2 separate regions of the Homo sapiens genome follow, and region 1 is linked to region 2. The links are contacts of gene promoters, found by promoter capture Hi-C in human tissues and cell types (Jung and others, 2019). All regions are on one chromosome and are shown on one strand. The core of a region is centred on a gene start or on the middle of the fragment in contact, and the rest is flanking DNA. Distances in the headings are between cores, read along the strand shown.

Evidence for each region. The method cuts DNA at HindIII sites, captures the fragments that hold promoters and counts their contacts. A contact is called where the count stands out against the background at its distance.
Region 1: a contact is called between a fragment that was not itself captured here and the fragment with the promoter of B4GALT2 in region 2, in 1 of the 25 tissues and cell types used here (H1 embryonic stem cells).

What each region holds. Positions count from the first base shown.
Region 1 is chr1:43,584,171-43,590,926 of GRCh38, reverse strand. PTPRF (protein tyrosine phosphatase receptor type F) reads right to left here. Exons shown (of 34, transcript NM_002840.5): 8 at 1,927-2,196. Among named protein-coding and RNA genes, the nearest start is that of PTPRF, 57 kb to the right of the region's middle. The HindIII fragment of the contact is 4,012 bases long and covers 1,592-5,603 here.
Region 2 is chr1:43,973,976-43,980,595 of GRCh38, reverse strand. It overlaps B4GALT2 (beta-1,4-galactosyltransferase 2), which reads right to left and starts at 1,386. Exons shown (of 7, transcript NM_003780.5): 1 at 1,085-1,386. It overlaps ATP6V0B (ATPase H+ transporting V0 subunit b), which reads right to left and starts at 5,636. Exons shown (of 8, transcript NM_004047.5): 1 at 5,489-5,636; 2 at 4,748-4,796; 3 at 4,423-4,506; 4 at 4,217-4,294; 5 at 3,937-4,006; 6 at 3,772-3,823; 7 at 3,380-3,570; 8 at 2,301-2,615. The coding sequence starts at 5,555. The coding sequence ends at 2,589. It overlaps LOC124904167 (a long non-coding RNA gene), which reads left to right and starts at 5,731. Exons shown (of 2, transcript XR_007066053.1): 1 at 5,731-6,153. RefSeq lists silencers at 1,013-1,122, 1,393-1,492, 5,098-5,147, 5,548-5,597 and enhancers at 910-1,501, 1,502-2,092, 2,093-2,684, 4,817-5,649, 5,848-5,897 and 2 more. The HindIII fragment of the contact is 8,245 bases long and covers 1-5,431 here.

The DNA.
Region 1 (6,756 bases), core at 2,348-4,847, 390 kb after region 2:
TTAGGAACCAACCCTAGACTTGGGGATTATCCAGGATATCTGGTGGGGTCACCTGAGTGTGGCTGATACCCACAGCCTACCTTGAAAAATGGCTGGAAAAGCTTATGGTGACCTCTGAAGGCACAAGTGAGGGACAGTGGCCAGGCCTGTCAGTGCCCCACCCAGGGCCTTGGGTCATTTAGTATGTACACATATCAACTGTGGGATTCACTGGACCCTCCCATCAGCACACCAGACTCATCTAACAAACAGACCTGGAGGTGATGTGACCCTTGCAGTCCCATGTAGATGAAAGACACCCAGACTGGGTAGCAGCTATGTGCCTCTGCAGGTCACCTGAGCCCACCTGGTGGAAAGTATGTGTAATAGGCAGGGGAAGGGGAGATATTTCCTTAGGGACTGGCCCGGATAGAAAGAGTGATGGGGCTGCTGGCCCCACAGACCCTGCAGCTTGGCTCAAATTGAAGTGGAAAGGTCCTGAGTCCACAGTCATTCAACAAATAATTAACAAGCACCCACTCAATGCCAGACATTGTGCTGGGGCTACAATGCCACACAGTCACATCCCTGCTCTCATGGAGTTTACACCTCAGTACAAGAGAGAATCAATAAACAAGTCGATCGTACTCATGATTCTGCCATGTGCAAGGACAGCAGGAATCAGGGTGCTGAGGTGGAGTAAGATCCAGGGAATCTCCTTGGATGCGGTGATGAGGGAAGGAAAGCATCACCAAGCTGAGGCCTGGAAGGGTACATGGAGCCAGTGACAGAAGGGGCCAGGCAAGGAGCACGGCAAACGGAAAGCAGCATGTGTCTGGACAGCTGGCGCGTGACAGGGTGGGAAGCCAGTGGCCCTGGGAGACCACAGTGAGGATCCTGATCTGTATCCTAAAACAACGGGAAGCCACTGGAAGGTGTTTCTCCCTTTCCTAAAAGGGAGTCACTTGATCCTGAATTACATTTTTTAAAGATCACTCAAGCTGCAAAACAGATAATGGATCAGAGGCTGTTGAGAATTGCAGCGGGGAGACCAGGAAGGAATCTGGTTTTTTTTTTTTTCATAGGGTCTCGCTCTGTCACTCAGGCTGGAGTGCAGTGGTGTGATCATGGCTCACTGCGTCACTGTAGCCTCACCCTCCTGGGCTCAAGTGATCCTCCTGTCTCAGCCCTCCCAAGTAGCTGGGCCACAGGTGTGTGCCACCATGCCCAGTTTTTTTTTTTTTTTTTTTTTCGTAGAGATGGGGGTCTCACTACGTTAACTGGGCTGGTCTCAAACTCCTGAGCTCAAGCAATCCTTCCAACTTGGCCTCCCAAAGCGCTAGGCTTACAGGAATGAGCCACCGTGCCTGGCCAGAATCGGTTACATATATGTGACATATGTGTAATACATGTGTGCCTGTCCCCAGGTATCAGGGCAGAGAGAACACACTTTCCCCTACTATTTTACCACACCCTTCTTGCTGGGAGGCTATTAAACCTGAAGGTCTGGTACTATGTAGTGGTGAGGGTGAGATATGGATTCAGACCACACTGGGTTTAAGTCCCTGCTCTGTCATTTATTTTTATGTGACCCTGGGGCAAGTGATACACCCTCTCTGTGCCTCGGTTCCCTCGTTTCAAAAATGGAAATAATAAGAGCACCTATCTCCCAGGGTAAAACAGAAAAAAACAAAATCAACTGTGCTTGCTAGCATGATGTCTCCCACCAAGAAACTCAATATGCCTTAACTATTATCATTAAGCCGGCTAATAACAGAAATCCCTCCCTCCCTCTAAGGGCTGGAGGACCCCAGGGCAGGGACACCCAGGAAAGGGCAAGAATCCCTCAGCCATGCCTGTGCCCATGGCAGCCAGCTCACATTCGCCCACCACCAGGACCTCCCAGATGACAGGGAGGGCACTGGTTACAGCACCTGCCACACTCACCTTTCACTGTGACCTGGGCTGTGGCCTCGATCATGCCCAGCGAGGAGATGGCCACACAGGTGTAGTTGGCAGAGCGTACGACATTGCTGAGCTCCAGGACGTTGCGGCCAACTGGCATCTCATCCTCCTTGGTGAGCTCCTCGGCCCCCATCATCCACTTCACGTAGGGCATGGGTGCACCCACTGCCACGCATGTCAGGTTCACGCTGCCGCCTGGCATCACCTCCTGGCTGCTGGGAGGGATGGAGAAACGAGGAGCCACGCGGCGCACTGCAGGAGGAGGGAGAGAGGCACTCACAGGCCGGGCAGGACACACGACTGCATGGAAGGGCAGGGGCCCCTCATTCAGGAAGCCCCTCTGGTCAGAGCCAAACCCATGCTCAGAGACAGGAGGGGTGGCACCGCCAGACCCCAGCTCATCATCCACTCCCACCCCACCCACTTCCAGCCTAGAAGTGGCCCCCACACTCAGGGACTGTCTGGAGCACGATGACTTACTCAATGAGAGATCTTGCAACCAAGCTCCCATTTTATAGCCTAGGAAACTGAGGCCTGTCAGGAAGGTCCTGTCTGCCCAGGGTCACACAGGGACTCAGTACAAGGTCCAGGCCTGGTCAGGACCACAACCCAGGGTGTTCTCCAGGGCCTATCTCTGCCTGCTCCTGGCTGGAGCACCAAGGAGAGAAAGCAGGCCCTAGGGTGGAGGGTCCTCAGAGCATGGCTGGGCAGAGCAGAAGGCCAGTCCAGAGGGACACAGCCACCTGCCGTGGAGTCACTGCCTCCACCTCCAGGCCATGGCCTGAGGGGAAGAAATAAGGCAAGCAGCAGGGCCGCCTGCCAGGGTCTCAGCCATGCTCAGGGCACAACCTGGGAACCCAAGCAAAAGGGCTGCCCTCAGGAGGACTGGGGAGGGGCAGGGGTCAGGGCAGGCCAGGGACATGGTCTGCGGGCAGGATGGGCATGACGATGGCAGTAACATGATGAGGGCGCCGAACAGACGGCTTCCTGCGCCAACAAACAAGGGTCTCAAGGGGAGGGGTGGCTGTGGCTGTGCCTGGCCACGACCTCCAGCCTTGGACTCCCCTGACCAGAAGCTGTTCTGAGCTTCTCAGTCCAGGGTACAGCCTAGAACCACCCGCCCCCGAAGTTGGAAGCTTGACACAGACACAGGAGCATGCAGAGGGAAGGGAGGTGATGAAACCCAGCCGTGGGCAGGCATGTCTGGCATGCAGATGGGCCATGCAGCTGGTGAGCAGAGGCCAGGGTGTGTCCTACACGGGCACTCTCACACGCAGGGCCAAAGGCGGCAGGCAGCAGGCTAGTCAGTACCCAAGAGCACTGCTGAGAGCACTGGTCTCTGAGGACCCTCGCTGGGGGGCCCAGGCATGCAAAGACCCCACAGCACCACATAAGGAGCATCTCCACTATAAGCACCAGACTATGCTGCTCACACAGCCCCAAATCACAGAACTAGAGCTAGAAGCAACTTCAGAGACCTCCCGGTCCAACGTCTGACCTCACCATACAGGGGTCAAAACTTAGACCCAGAGATCAGACATTCAGCAAGTCACCAGGTCCTGTCAACAGCGTGGCATAACATATCTTCCAAATCCATGTATTTCTCTCCATACACACAGGCAACTGCCACCACCAAAGTCCAAGCCATCATCATCCTTCCCTGAGTTGCTGCAATGTGTTCTGCGTCAGTCCTCCTGCCTTGTTGTCCACTGCCCCAATTCCTGCTCACGGGCCCTCCACAAACAGCTGGCACAAATCTGATGCCACTCCCTGTTTAACAAGCTCCTGCATGGCTCCCAGTGACTCCTCTGCCCAGCCCAAGAGACCCTACCTAATTTAGCACTTGCTTCAACTCCTTCCACAGCCTGCCTTACTCTGGTGCTCCAGACAGAACCCAAACCCTGGCAGCCCCAGAGACCAGGCCTGACAGGTGCTGGTGGGCTGGATCTGTGTCCCCAGGTTCACCTAGGGCATGAGAGTATCTTGTAGACATTCAGGGTTCTGCTTTCTCCTCAAATCAATGAGCATTCCCATTGTCTTTAAGGAAACCACTTCTACCTGCATTCTTCATACATGGGGTGTGTGACCCAGATCTGACTATGGAGAAACAGCCTTTGGACTTCCGCAGAAACTATTAGAAAAGCGACCTTCTCTCTCTACTGAGGTAGCTAAGCTTAGAGCAGCTGGGGATGGCTTCTCCCAACACACAGGAAAAGCTGCTTGAGAACAAAGATGTCGACAGAGGAGAGGAGAGCTCAGAAACAGACAGACAAATGACTGGCCAACCTGTTTAAGTACCTGGATCTAGCCCTGCCCAGCACCAAATCTACTACACTTTTCAGATTTGTAACACAGGACTTCCTTGTTTTGCTTACGCTGGTATAAGTGGGTTTCTGTCATCTGTTCTAGTGCCAGGAGTCTCTACCAATGATGACAGCATGTCACAGACACAGTTCTTGTGGCAGAACAGGTGGATCCCGGGGCATGGCTGGCAAGTGTCTCATGGCAACAAAGGACTCTCTGAGCACGCACCTCAAATGGTCCAAGGTGAGAGCAGGAGGCTCAGCCAGGACCACCACCCAGCCCAGCGGTGCATGCCCTCCCTCTGCTCTGGAGATGGGCCTCAGGGACAGGCACAGGCAGGCAAGTCTGTTTGCAGATCAGGTCCAGGCCTGCCACAGAAGCGGGGTGGGGGCAGCACAGAGGAGCAGCCTTAATGAACTAAATCTCTCCTGTCCTCTCGGCCAGTGGGTGCCCTGTCTCCTCCTCTTCATGGGAAGGGAAGCTATGCTTAAGCACCTACTAGGTGCAGGTTTCCATGCTGTAGATGCTATCACCTGCCAATTACAGTCAAGGGAACTGTTTTAAAACCAAGCCACATGACCAAGTTTATATACGTAGTAGGAGTAGGTCTGTGTGATGAAAAACTGTCACCCTTTCGAGCCCTAGCTGACAGGCCTGAAAAAAGACCCAGAAGGCTCTGGGGAGAAGCATCAGAATTAGCAGAGGCTGGCAGGAGAGGACGCTGCTCCAGCGGGCGTAAGGATGGGTTTAGACAGCCTGTGCCAGGGAGAGGTCATGATTGCAGGCTTGACCCCAGTCGGTGGTGGAATCATGGGGCCTAATCACGTCGTTGGATACCAGGACAAAGAGCCCCAGCAGAAGGAAGTAGGTCCTTGGCCAATAAACCTTGGGCACCAACCTAGAAACTTGACTGGACTTTACCCCCAAATTGTCCCTGGAGGACAGGGTCTTCAGGCCAAAAGGCGGACTTCATGGATCAGCCCTGGAGGTCAGGCCAACGCCCTGAGCCACGTCTTCTAAAGCCTCCAACTCCTGCGGCTGTCAGGAAATTGAGGCGCTTCACAGAAGAGTTGTGTTTATTTTTTCCCTCCTAGATGCAGGGGGCAGGGAGAGCTCTAGGGGCTAGGCATAAGTGTGAGAGGTCAACAGTGGCCTTTAGGGTCACCTGCAACACCAAGCAAGGGCCTCAGGTCCAGAGGCTCCTGGGCACACCACCTTCACTCTCACAAGGACACTGGGCTTCAGCCACGCAGAAACGTTACTGAGACTGAGACATTTTCCATGTGAGGGAGGTCAGGGTATGTCTACAGAGGAAGGGTGGGGGAAACAGGCAAGGGACAACCTCCTTGTATTCCAAGTGCCAACAGGGACCCGCATCCTAGACCTGCCCAGACAGCCACCCCCATGCCAACAGCTGGAGTGGCTGGCATCTCACTGCAGCAGCCCCAACCATCCTCCACCCACTGCTGCAGGCACAGGGCCTCCAAAAAGGAACAGGCCTCACCCTGGACAGTCTATTGACAGAAGCAACAGCAGGGAAAGAAAAACTGGAGCTGGGAAAAATGCACTCAGGGTCTAATCTTAGGCTCCAACAATGCCAGTATATTACCGTTCCCTGTGCATCCTTAGTGCTGACATTTTATAGACAATTTCCAAAACAGGGCCCTGCCATTTCTGGATTATATTTCAGCTGTAACTTTTAAGTCTAATTATTTGCGCTGACAACCCCCTATAATAGGGCGGTGCGGCGCCCAGAGGCATCAGCATTCAGTAGAGTGACAGCCTAATCGCAGGGGGAGGCAGCCCCGCAATCTGCATTCACTCAGAGAAATTTCTCTGATGAAAATAACACAACATTAAGGAGGGGATGAGGGGCAGGATCCACTGTATCAAGATAAAATAACTCTTTAATAAATAACCTTGTGGCTGCCGCAGAGCAGTAATTAAATGCCGGCAAACCCGGCACACAGTTTTAAGTAAAGCTGGAAAAATGTAAGATGCAATTATCAGCACCAAACAAATTACCAGCCCGGCAAATCCCCCTGGAATATTTAGAAACTCATGTCTGCCTTCCCGCTAAATATTTGTCCATGTGCTTATTTTTGGTGGGACCATAGGGTGGGGTGGGGGAAGGGAGGGGACGAGGGACCAGGAGGGTAGAGGAAGGGGCATGGAAGGAGCCACTCTGGGCTGGGCTGTCTCTGCTGATGACTGTTTTCTGGACGCCCTCGCAGATCTGCCCGGTCAGCAAAATGGTGTAACAGAAATGCCCCAGTGCTCAGCTGTGCATATGGATGGATGCTCAGGGCTGATATCTGAGCCTAGGCTATAGCCCTCCTCTCGACCGGCTCCCTCACCCTCACAGAGGAAACTCAAGCCACGGAGGATGTGGCAGAGGGAACGAGGATGGCCTGGGTTTGCTCCCTGAGGCTCAGCCTGTCCTACACTGCTATCCTGAACCCCCAAAACCCAATGGACAGGTGAGTCTCCTCTGACCACACAGACCAT
Region 2 (6,620 bases), core at 137-2,636:
CTCATGACTTCATTTAGTCCTTCCAGGAGCCATGGTGGGAAGTGGTTTGGTCATTCAGATCCCAGCGACAAGCAGGCCAGGCCAACTGGGACCAGGCTGGGAAGTTGCCCTCAGCATCCGGGGGGCCCAAATACAGACTGGATGTTTACAGAATCCCTTCCCACTGGAGCAAAACGTCAAAATACGGGGCAAGGCAGGGGACACCCCTCACTTAAGACCTCAAAGCCAGCCCCTTGGGACTGGGACCAAGACTCTGGGTCCTGCCCAGCACAGCTGGTTCTGATTCCCGGAACGGGATGCTTGGGCCTGGAGATGGGCACAGCACTGGGCATGGCAGGAAGGGGGTCTTGCCTGGGCGATGGCTCCAGCTGTGGTTCCAAGAGAGCGGCAGCCACTTCTGGCAGTGCTTCAGGGAGCAGGGTGAGTCTCACAGGCACACAGAATCACAGGGACACCCTGGTCCCAGCTGGTCACCCACACTCAGACACACAGAGAACTACAGTCACAGACACACCCGGGTGACAGTAACACACTAAGTCCCACACTCACAAACAAGGCCACTGCTCCTGGACTTCCACAGCCATACATCCAGACTCTCAGACAGCTCACACCCAGACCCACGTGCAGACATTCCCACCCTCCCTCCGGCGCAGGGGTTCTGGGTCAGGCTGGCGGCCAGGCTGAGGGGTGCGTTTGGGCGGGGCTGGCAGGCTGAACACGTGGCACCCGCGGACGGGCAGGCCGCACAGACCGGGTGGGTGTGGAGCCTGGGGGCAGGGGGAGTGGGTGGAGGGCAGCGGATGAGGCAAAGGCCAAGGGGAAACGTGTATGGAACGCCTCCCCGCGCCACGAGGCCGGGGCGAGCGAGGACAATGAGGGAGGCCGGCTGGACGCGGGCGGAGAAGCCCAGGAGGGGCGCCGGAGTGGGGGCGGGGTGGGGGCAGCCAGGCCGGGGTCTGGCCGCCGGCGCCTCTCTCACCGGCTCCTGGGTTGGGATCTCGGGGCCGCGCTCGGGGTGCCCCTCGCGGGGCTGGGTCTGGAATCTCGGGGCCCTGGGTGGGGGCCGCGCGCGCCCTCCTCTCACCCGGCGCTCGGGGCTCAGCAGGGGACGCCGCTCCGACTTGGGCAGGGCTCCCGGCTCCGGCGGCTGCGGACGGTTCCGTCCCCCATGGCCCGGCCCCGCCGCCTCCCGCCGCCCGGTCAGCGGCCACCGCGGCCCCCGGGTCGCCTCCCGCCGCCGCCGCCGCCGCCGCCGCCGCGGGCCATGGAGCCGAGCCGCCCCGGGGGGCAGGGCGGGGCCGGGCGGCCGGGCAGACCCACGGACCGGCGGACCCACGGACCACAGCGCCGCCGCCTCCCTCCCGCGCTACGGCGCCTCGGAGGGGCAGGCCCGGCCCGCGCGCCCGCGCGCGCGCCCCCGCGGCCCCCGCCTCCAGCACGCCCGCACCCGCCGCGCGCCGCTGCGAGCCCGCCCTGCCGGCGGCCGAACCCGGGCACCCAGGAGGCACGGACCTGGGAGCGCGGGAGGAAATGGGTCAGGCTCGTCCAAAGGGTGGGCTTAGAGGTCGGACCGGCGAGCGGGTGCAGACCGTGGAGTCCCTTAGCGGGGAGTGGGGATTGCATTGGAGCGCGAACTCCCCAGGAAGGGGACCTGGAGGTTGGGCGGACTCAGGCTGCGGGGCTAGGGATTTGTCAACTCTTTAATTGGACCAAGATTCAAGGTCGGCCAGCAGAGAGGGGGCAGGACCCTTAAAGGCGTGGGCTGGAGGTGGCTGGGGCTTCTGGGGTAACAGGAAACAGGGTCAGGGAAGGAGAAAACGAGATTGGATGGGGTGGGAGGAGCTGCCCTGGGCCCTGGGAACAAGGATCAGAGTAGAGGTTTCTGGGAGGGGCTGCTGCTAGAAGGACAGGACCATCACTGGAGGCAGAGACCACTGCCTAGGCTCCAGGCCTCACAAGGACGGAGATGATGGTGCCCGACTGTACAACCAGGTAAGTAGATGCTGTCAGACAATTCGGGCATGGTGGTCAGTCAGAGCCCTGAGCAAACGGGCCTAGAAGGACTACAGGCACAAACACACCCAGGGGCCCCTATCTGCACACTCCCTCATCCCCAAACAAGTCTGTTTGGGGGTTAGAGTCCACCCAGCACCCGTGCCTCCCCACCTAGGAGCAAGCTCTGTGCAGATCAGAAGTGTGCAGTCAGAAAGCTGACAAGGGATTGGCATGAGGCTGAGGCGTACAGGCCTCTTTACCCTTCCTCTGTGAACGGTGACGCAAGAGGGCAACAGAAGCTGCACTGACCCAGACAAATACCAAGTTTATTTCACAAACACTAGGAAGATGGGTTGAGGGTGGAGGTGGGGGACACAGGTGCGCAGCTGCACAGAGTCAGCAGCAGCAGCCTGCTCCCCGCACTGAGGACTCGGCCTGGACTGCAGTGCCTCCAAATCAACACGCAGCAAGAGGGGAGTGCAGGGAGGGCCCTGAACACCAAGCCTCTGAAAGGCTAAGGGACACAGCTCCAGCTGTCCCAGGAAAACCAGCAATAAATAAAAGTGAGGCACGGCCCCACCCACACATATCATCTAGTCACCCATCTTCACTCTGGAGGTCTGCAAAAAAAGAACAGGAGAAATCAGGCAGGGACAGAGGAATAGGTAAGGCAGTGACAAATGATAGAAGATGACATCTAGCACATGGTTGGATGGACAGACCACAAGAGATATATGACTAACCAGGATGGACACACTGTGACAGACAAGGCAGACAGGGACAGACAACCACAGAGTTACGCTGTGGGACAGACGGAGAGAAGTGGCATATGGATAAAGCTAGTCACTAAGAATCAACTCAGTCAAGCACCCACAGTCACACTCAGACCCTCAGGCTGATCCTTAGTCACAAACTCACACACTGTCAGACAGACTAGACACACACAATTTAGACAATGGTGTCCTACTGACAGGCATGTGAGAGGGAGATACACATAGCTCCGAGAGACAGTCAAACACACCATGACAGACTGATATAGACAGACAAAATTCCATTCTAGTCTAGATCACAAATACAGACTGGAGACATGAAAAGCATGGCAGATAAAATGAGAGAACAGAAAGAGGGAGGACTAAGTGCTATACAGATACAACGCATTAGAAAGGGGGGAAAAAGAACAGGGCTGTTGTCAGTGACACCAAATCAGAGACAAAAATAGAGAGCCCCTGTAGGAGAAAACCAGAAGATGGAAATGAGGAGGTGGAAGCTGTTTGGGGGAATCTATAGTTATAGGTAGAGAAGGAGAGCACTTCAGCTTCTCCAGAAGGAGGGTAAGGCTAGGTTGGGGACAAGGACACAGAGGCTTCCCAAGGGGATTCATCACCTGAAGAATTGCGACGATGACCCCAAAGAGGCCAATGGCGCTGCCAAAGATCTCCACGATGAGAATCTTTACAAAGAGGCTGGGGTTCTGAGCATCGGCCAGGGCAGCCCCACTGCCCACGATGCCCACGCAGACTCCACAGAAGAGGTTAGACAGGCCTACGGTGAGGCCAGCCCCAAACATGGAGTAGCCTGGGAGGATAGAGAGGGGTGCAGTGAGGCTAAGCCAGGAATGGGGGAGATATGGGCTAATGGGGCCAATCACCATCCCCACTCTGCAAAGCAGAAAAAGTAGGTGAGAGAATATCAAAATGATGGCCCAAGCTGGGATGGGGGAGAGTGGAAGCAGGCATGAAGTCCCAGCATTTTGCATTCATACGCCCATCCACCCACCTGCATGGTAGTTCCGATGGCCGATGGCCTTGGGGTCTGTGGCACTGAAAGGCTGAGGGAAGAAGAAAAGTAATCAGAAACCATCCTGATGCACCCCATCCAATCTCTAAGGAATGTGTAGAACACACTGGAATGGATTCCCGCCACCACCCTGGCCTTCCATACCTCAGCCATGTTGCTAATGACAATTGCCATGATGATGCCGTAGATGGCCACAGCCTCACAGAAGATGATGCTGGTAGTGGTAGAGATTAGGGGTAAGGAGTGGAAAGGAGAAAGAAATGAGAAAGAAACCGTCCTTCCTGCCCAGTAAGTCCCCAGCAATCTTTCCCCTATAACATCCCATCCCACAAGGTGGCTTGTCAGAAACAGTATGTCAGATCAAACACACAGGCAGCGCCAACACAGCTGGTTCTGACAAAAGTCCAAGGACCCTGACACTTACCTGACCAGGTTCTTGGTCTTGATCCTGGGGGCCTTCACTCCTCCACCAATGATGGAGGAGCCGGTAATATAGATGCCCCTGGTGGAAGGATAAAAAACTGATGAGCAGAGCCCAAGCTGTCACTGCCCTCAGCATGCCTAAGACCCCAGTGACACCACCTGCCATGACTCAGCCCCTGCCCCCAGTCCCACCACCCCAATACTCACCAGGCTGCCCCAACCACAGACAGGGAGATAGCTAGGCCAATGCCCAGGTTGGACCACATGAAGGGCGAAGTCTCCGTCAGGAACCTGTTGTGGAAGCAGAGAAGAAAGCAGTTCAGCTCTAGCAGGGAAGCGGAGCACAAAATCTTAACCCCTCAAACCCCCTTCAACCCCACCACCAGTTCTACAGGCAACAACTGACCGCGTATTTCCCAAAGGTCCATGTCCCAGGCAGGCAGTGGTGTGGGGGAGGGACTCAGACCAGAGAAAAGAAGAGAGGCTGCAGGGAAGAAGCTTCAAGGGGAATCCTCCCCCTGCCCTCCCTTACCATGCCACATCAAAGCGGAAGCCCAAATCAAAAATGGTGTAGCAGACTCCTGCAGCAGTGAGGGAGAAAAAGGGGGTTACGGGCTGCTCGGTAGAGAGAAGTTCTTCAACCTAAAGTAGCTGCCGAGCTGAAGGGCCACCTCCCTGAAGGGGCGTCCTCAGGCTGCCCCCAGGTGACAGTACAGCTGTGTAGACAGATTCCTCTGCTTAGGCCTCCATTTTCTGCCATTCCCTCGCTAAAACCACCTCCCAGACCAAGCACCTGCGCAGGCAGGGTCGCCACCCGCAAGCCCGAATCCGAGGCGGGACCGAGGGAGCAAGCGCTCCAGCCAGATCCCGCCGGCCCAGTCCGTTCCGCTGTTTACCCAACAAGCTGTGGGTGGGGGAGGGCAAAGCGACTGGGAAAAGAGGAACCGGAGCAGCCGGCTTGTGACCGAGCGGGCCGGTCAGGAGCAAGAAAGGGGGGACAGCAGTGAGACGTGGGAGCGAGGGGAGACAGCGATAGTGGCAGGACGGGGGAGTGCTGCCCTCGCGGCCCCTACCCGCCCGCACCCCTCCTCAAGCAGCTGGAAATCCGGGTCTCCTTTGTCGGAGTCAGAGGCCCTCGCAGGCGCAAGTCCCCAGAGCCTCGGGTGCAGAGCGCGCGGGGGGCCAGTATTCCCCGCAGGCCACTTCCCCGCCGAGTTCCGACCCGGCCAGCTCGGCCGCGATGCTGCTCCCGCCCGCCAGGACCCGGCCTCACCCACGGCCAGCGCGCAGGCCCAGAAGGCCACGAAGACCCCGGAGTAGAGCAGTGCTAGCCCCGTCATGGCGGCGACGGCGGCGGGGGTCGGAACGGCGGGGCCGGAGCTACAAACGCGTCCCAGCGTCCACCGTCCGTCCCGCAGTCTGTCCGCCCGCCCCGCAGCGTCACCTAACTCGCCCACGTGATGCGCCGGTACCACGTGACCCCACGCCGGTTCCCCGCGCAGCGCCGCCGCCCGTCTAGAGCAAGGCGACGCTGGAACCGCAGGCGCTGGGGATTGTGGTAGTTGTAGTCACGCGTCTCGGCGGAGGCTTGGGCGCCCTCCTCTCTAGGAACTTCGACATCTGGCCGGTCCTTCTCGAGTCTCTCCACCTCGCCCTGCCAGCCCTGTTTTATTCCCGAGCCTGCTCGCGGGCCCCTAAGGCGTCCTCTCTGGCAGCCGTGCGTCCTAGCCTGTGGCGGGTGGCGCCGCGCGTGCCCTCTGCCTCACCTTGCTCACGGCGTCTCTCCGCCCCAGTGCGCCTGTTGGCGCTCGCTCCGCTGCCTGGCTAACACCTGCTGTCCTCCGAAATCGTCCTTCCGGCAAGCCTTCCCTAACCCAGTGGCAGGGAAGCGCGTTTGCTGGGCTCCCGCGATGTCCTGGTGATGCTTATTAAGCTTCAGTAAGATGTCACTACCCTGTCGAAATGCCCTGATGGCTCCCATTTCATTCAGGAGAAAAGCCAAAGTTCTCACAATAGCCTGCTAGGCTCCCCACGCCCCTCAGCTGACTTCACCTTCTAATATTCCCCCACTAACTCCCTCCTCTGGCTGCACTGCCCTCCTTGCTATTTCTTTGAACGTGCCAACCATACCGCGACCTCACTGCCCTTGCACTTGCTCTCTCTGCTTCTCCTAACTATACATGCGGCTCATCCTGTAACTTCCTTTCAGTTTTTGCTCACCTTCTTGAAAAGGCCTTCTCTGACCATTCTGTTTAATATTCCACCCCACTTAAACGCTCCTCTGCTTCCCAGCTTTACATTTCTCACGGTACTTACTGATCACCATTTGGCATACTAAGTATTTTATTTGTCCAACTCCCCTGGAAGAGTGGAAGCACCATGGCTTTTGTGTCGCTCACTGCTGT